Regions from separate parts of the Homo sapiens genome. Here region 1 is linked to region 2. Evidence: promoter capture Hi-C in human tissues and cell types (Jung and others, 2019). All regions are on one chromosome and are shown on one strand. The core of a region is centred on a gene start or on the middle of the fragment in contact, and the rest is flanking DNA. Distances in the headings are between cores, read along the strand shown. Region 1 holds the start of CACNG7 (calcium voltage-gated channel auxiliary subunit gamma 7). Region 2 holds the start of CACNG8 (calcium voltage-gated channel auxiliary subunit gamma 8).

The links. The method cuts DNA at HindIII sites, captures the fragments that hold promoters and counts their contacts. A contact is called where the count stands out against the background at its distance.
Region 1: a contact is called between the fragment with the promoter of CACNG7 here and the fragment with the promoter of CACNG8 in region 2, in 1 of the 25 tissues and cell types used here (dorsolateral prefrontal cortex).

The regions. Positions count from the first base shown.
Region 1 is chr19:53,907,867-53,910,566 of GRCh38, forward strand. It overlaps CACNG7 (calcium voltage-gated channel auxiliary subunit gamma 7), which reads left to right and starts at 1,412. Exons shown (of 6, transcript NM_031896.5): 1 at 1,412-1,651. RefSeq lists an enhancer at 1-38. The HindIII fragment of the contact is 9,573 bases long and covers 164-2,700 here.
Region 2 is chr19:53,961,550-53,964,249 of GRCh38, forward strand. It overlaps CACNG8 (calcium voltage-gated channel auxiliary subunit gamma 8), which reads left to right and starts at 1,388. Exons shown (of 4, transcript NM_031895.6): 1 at 1,388-1,876. The coding sequence starts at 1,594. RefSeq lists an enhancer at 229-749. The HindIII fragment of the contact is 7,710 bases long and covers 1-2,700 here.

The DNA.
Region 1 (2,700 bases), core at 162-2,661, 54 kb before region 2:
CCAACGTGGACAGTGCACAGCGAGAGAGGGGCACGGAGATCACTGAGAGTGCCAGGTGGCGACCCCCGCGCAGAGACCCAGCGCGTCCGTGTTCACCAGAGCAGCCACGCAAGCTCACATGCACCCCCAGGCTCAGACACCGGGGAGAAGTCCTTCCCAAGCGGGGAGATCACAGTCTGGCCTCTTCTTGAGAGACCTAGAGACCTGATCAGAGGAAGAGACCCCCACGCCAGAGCAACCAAAAACAGCCAGAACCCGAGAGCCTAGGAATCGGCGACGGAGGCACACGGCAGGCAGACGCGCCTTCTGGGCCTCTTTCCCTTGACCCACTTGAGAGTCTGGGGAGTGCCGGGGACCGTGCAGATGGACTACATTTCCCCGCAGGCCTCGCGGCAGACCCTTCCCCCAAGTGCGGCTCCTTGCCGCCAGGGCTGATGGGAAATGTAGTCTCCGGTCAGGGCCAGACCAGTGGAGCGGTGTGCCTTGTCTGTGTGTTTGGAGGGGACTGAGCCCCAAAGCTTCGCAGTCTTCCTTGCGGACCCGGGCACGTCTTCTTCCCTGCAGTCTCCTGGGTTTCCATGACCCGGTCCGGGTGGATGCTGGGGCTGCCCCTCTCTCCCTCATCACCGCCGCGACACCCCCATCCAGTGCCCGCAGGCCCCAGCCCCCGCTCCGACCCTCGGCGGGCGGCCTGCCCCTTTAAGAGTGGCCCCGCTGACATCACGGCGGGGGGGGGGGGTGGCCCGGCTCCTGGCTCCGCGGCGGCTGCAGGACCCGACTCCGCTCTGCGCCCGCCCGCTGCTGTAGGGACCCCGGCCCGGGACGCCCCCTCCCGCTTCCTGCAGCCGTCCAGACCCCAGGCTCCGCCCCAGGCCTGGCTAGAGCCCCAGTCCTCGTCAGGGGACCCCCAGGATTGTCCCTGCTGTCTCTCCTTCTCAGAGTCTCTCTCTGTCTCTCTCTGTCTCTCTGTCTCTCTCTCTCTGCCTCTGTCTCTGTCTCTTCTCCAAGCTCAAGGTCTCTGGGTCTCAGCATCTCTCAGCCCCAGGCCTCTGGGCGTCCCCCTGTCTCTTTCTGTCTCTTCCTGGTCTCTGACCTCTCCACTTCCCAGGCCTCAGAATCTCTGCGCCTAGGTGGTGAGGGGTGGTCTTAAACTCTGTCTCTCTCCCTCTTTGTCTCTCTCTGTCTCTGTGTCTCCTTCAGTCTCCAGACCTGAGTCCCTGGATTTCTCGGCCTCAAGGTCTCGGCGTGACTTTCTCTCTCTGCCCTGTCTCTCTTTGTGCCTCTGCCCCTCTCGGGCTCTCTGCCTCTGTTTCTATTCTCTCTCCCTCTCTGCCTCCCCCATCCTCAAGGCCCATCTCCCTCCCTCGCTGCATCCTTCCCCCCTTCCCTCCCCGCCCCTCCCCTCCTCCGCAGTAGCCAATGAGCGGCCGCCGGTTCCTGCTCCCGGCTCCGTCCGCCGAGTGAGGCCGCGGCCGCGGGGGGTGGGGGGTGGGAGGCCGGGAGGGGGCCGGGACGCCGGGCTCCGGGGCGGGGGCGGGGGGCGCGGGCACCGGCGACCCCGGTGGCGGCGGCGGCGGCCGGGGGAAGCCTCGGGGCCGGTCATGCGGCTGCGGGGCCCGCGGCCCGGAGCGTCCGCCCAGCCCTGAGCGAGGTGAGCGCTAGCGGAGGGTCCTGGGAGGAAGAAGGGGCGCCCCTCGAGGTGGCTGCGAGCCGGGTTTGGGGCAACAAGGGACCCGAGTGGCTCCAGGGGTGGTGAGATCCTGGCGGTCGGGACGCCCGAATTCGAGCGGCTATGGGGGATGCAGGGACACCTGGGCCTGGCGATCCCGGAGGACGGGGTCCGAGGGTCCCGGAGTGGGAAACTGCACTCCTCGCGTCCGAGTCGCAGCGAGCGTGGGCTGGGGAGGGCAGAGGCCGGGTCCCTGAGGAAGGCGAGGTACGGGGCGAGGGCGGAGGACCCAGGCCCGGCCAGAGCAGGATGTGGGTCTGGAAAGGGGTCCCAGAAAGGGGGAGTTACGGTCTCCCGAGAGATGGAGGAGAGATGGAGTTTGGGCTTAAGACTTGCAGAAGGGGACCCCGGAGATTCAAATGCCTGAATCCGGGAAAGGGTGGGAGAAAGAGGGAGAAGAGGAGGCTTCAGGCCTGGGGGGAGGGTCCCAAAGGAGGAAAGGCTGGAGGAATAAGGAGATCTGGGCGGGCCAGTGAGAGGGAGGAGGAATTGGAGCAAGGTTGGGTTTTAAAACGGGGTGCGAGAATGTGGAGAAGGGACGAGGTCCCAGCTGAGAGTCAGAGGGGCGAAAGGGGGAAGCTGAGATCGGCTACCTGGGATGGAGGCAGCCAGGGTGGCCAGGGTGATGGTGCCCGTTTCCGAGCCCACAGGGCTGCGAGGGGACCAGGCAGCTCGCGGTCAAACCCCTGAGCCGCCAGGCGGGGGATGGGAGGAAAAGCTGGCCAGAGCGTTCCCTGACTCCGGATCTCGGAGGCCTCCAAGAGGTTGGGGGGGAAGGAGGGGGGATCTGGAGGCTGGGAGTGCGGGGTGGAGCGGGGAGGAGTGAGGGTTGTCTCAGACTCCAGAGTCTTTATTCAGGTGGAGCAGAGTTGCAAGGTTAGAAGAATTCTGGTGAAGGAAAGTGGAGTTTTATGTCTTGATTAGTTTGTAGGGGAGAATGTTGAGGGGTCTCAACCTTCATAGTTAAAAAG
Region 2 (2,700 bases), core at 138-2,637:
GTATGGGGTGGGGAGTGAGTGGCTTGTGGGGAGACAGTGGGGGCTGTGACAGGGAATGGGCTGGAGATGGCGGGGGGGGGGCAGCTTGCAAACCAGTGGGTCTGATGTTGGGTGCATTAGAATTCCCCAGGGAGCTTTTAAAAACTTACATGCGCAGGCCACACTGCAGACCAACCATGTCGGACTTTCTCAGGTGGGACTCAAACATCCGAATTTTTAAGGTCCTCGGGTGATTTCCAGGTGTGTTGGAGGCTGCCCGAGGCAGGAAGGGGGCTTCCAGGGAGAGGAGGCTGACTGAGGGTGGCTGGTGATTCCGAGTTGCACAAACTGTGAGGGTCAGCTGGGATTTTCTTTTTCTTTTTCTTCTTCTTTTAATTTTTCCTTTTTAGTTGAAGAGAGGTTGAGAGATTTATTTTTTCCTAAGGAGAGGAAACTGTGGGGGACCATTTGGAGTGATGGAATGACAAAAGCCAGACCGGAGGGGGCTCGCGGAGGTTACTCCCACGGAAGTGGTGCTACTCGGGCTTCTTAAGTTGTGGAGACGCTCAGGGAAAAGTTGGGCTGACAGGGAAGGGTTCTAGCGGGTGGAGAGGTGGGGCTTGCAGGGGAAGAGTGGGGAGAGCTGGTGGGCGCCGCATGGTGATGGGGCGGGGGTCGCTAAGGAAGGAAGAACGCGACGGGGGCTCCTGGGGAGGAGGCGGCGGCGTGGGGCTTGGCATCATGGCGGGGGGTGGCTTCCCATGCGATGAGGATCGTGGAGCCCCCTGGGGCGGAGGCGGCGCGGGCTAGGGGCGAGGGCTGTGAGTGTGAGCGGTGGTGGGGACTCCTCCGAGTGGGGTTAGTGGGATGGTGGGACGACTTTCTTGGGCAGAAGACAGGAGTGGAGAGAGATTTCATCTTATTTATTAATTATTAGCGGTGGTGGGGACTCCTCCGAGTGGGGTTAGTGGGATGGTGGGACGACTTTCTTGGGCAGAAGACAGGAGTGGAGAGAGATTTCATCTTATTTATTAATTATTAGCGGTGGTGGGGACTCCTCCGAGTGGGGTTAGTGGGATGGTGGGACGACTTTCTTGGGCAGAAGACAGGAGTGGAGAGAGATTTCATCTTATTTATTAATTATTAGCGGTGGTGGGGACTCCTCCGAGTGGGGTTAGTGGGATGGTGGGATGACTTTCTTGGGCAGAAGACAAGAGTGGAGAGAGATTTCATCTTATTTATTAATTATTATTATTATTATTATTATTATTATTATTTTTGAGAAAGAGAAGCAGTGGAGCCCCGAGTGGAAGGAGTTTCTGGAGCTGAGGCAGGGATTTTGGGGGGGGGGGGGCGGGGACTGGGGGAGGTACCTGTGCCTTCTTCTCCTCTAATGCGAGATCTCGCTCCTTGCCCTCCACCAGCCGCCGACCATGGCCGCGCTCTGACCCCCTCCCCGGCCGCAGCCTCCTCCTCGCCGCCCCCCTCCCCAGCCCCGCCGGCCCCGGGCCCCCCGCTTCTGCCTGCGCTGTGAACCCCCCCCCAGCCGCCGGCACGGCCCCGCCCCCGCTGCCCCGGTGGTGGCCCACGGCCCCCCGGCTGCCCGTGGTCAAACTGGAGTCGCTGAAGCGCTGGAACGAAGAGCGGGGCCTCTGGTGCGAGAAGGGGGTGCAGGTGCTGCTGACGACGGTGGGCGCCTTCGCCGCCTTCGGCCTCATGACCATCGCCATCAGCACTGACTACTGGCTCTACACGCGCGCCCTCATCTGCAACACCACCAACCTCACGGCCGGCGGCGACGACGGGACCCCCCACCGCGGGGGCGGCGGCGCCTCGGAGAAGAAGGACCCCGGCGGCCTCACGCACTCGGGCCTCTGGAGGATCTGCTGCCTGGAAGGTAGGGTGCGGGCGGCCCTCCCCGCAGCCCCCGCCGCTCCCCTCCGAGAGACCCTGAGCCTCCCGGGGCTGCCTGTCCCTGATCCTGGGGCCCCCTTGGGCACCCCTCCTCCTCTGCCAGAGGGGCTTCTGCGCCTTCCCACTCGCGCCCCTGACCTCCTCTCCCCTCCTTCCCACTCCTCCCTGCGTCCTGGCACCCTGCGGAATTCCTCGGCATGCTCCCTCTGCAGCCCCTCTGCCTCTCCGCTGAACCCCCTTATCCTATCTTTCCCTAGTCCGTGTCTCCTGCGCTGCCCCATCACACCCCTGCATCTTCCCTCTCTCCAGTACCTGGGGCTCCTCCTGTTTCATTTCTTCCACTCTGCCCTGTGCCTTTTCTCTTTTTTTTTTTTTTTTTGACAAGGTCTCACTCTGTCGCCCAGGCTGGAGTACGGTGGCACAATCACAGCTCACTGCAGCCTCGAATCCCTAGGCTCAAGCCATCCTCCCACCTCTGCCTCCTGAGTAGCTGGGACCACAGGCATGAGCCACTGTGCCCAGCTAATTTTTTTTATTATTTGTAGAGATGAGGTCTCCTGTTGCCCAGGCTGGTCTCGAGCTCCTGAGCTCAAGAGATCCTCCTGCCTTGGCCTCCAAAGTGCTGGGATGAAGGGCATGAGCCACTGCACCCAGCAGCCTCTTTCTCCCTCTTTCCCGTCAGTTCATCTTGACCCTGCTCCTCCGCTCCACCTGCCCCTTCATTTCCTCTCCCTCGTGCCCCGTGACATCTTCTCTCTCCCGACATTTCCCCCCCAGTCCTCTGAAGTCCCCTGCCTCTCCCGCCCC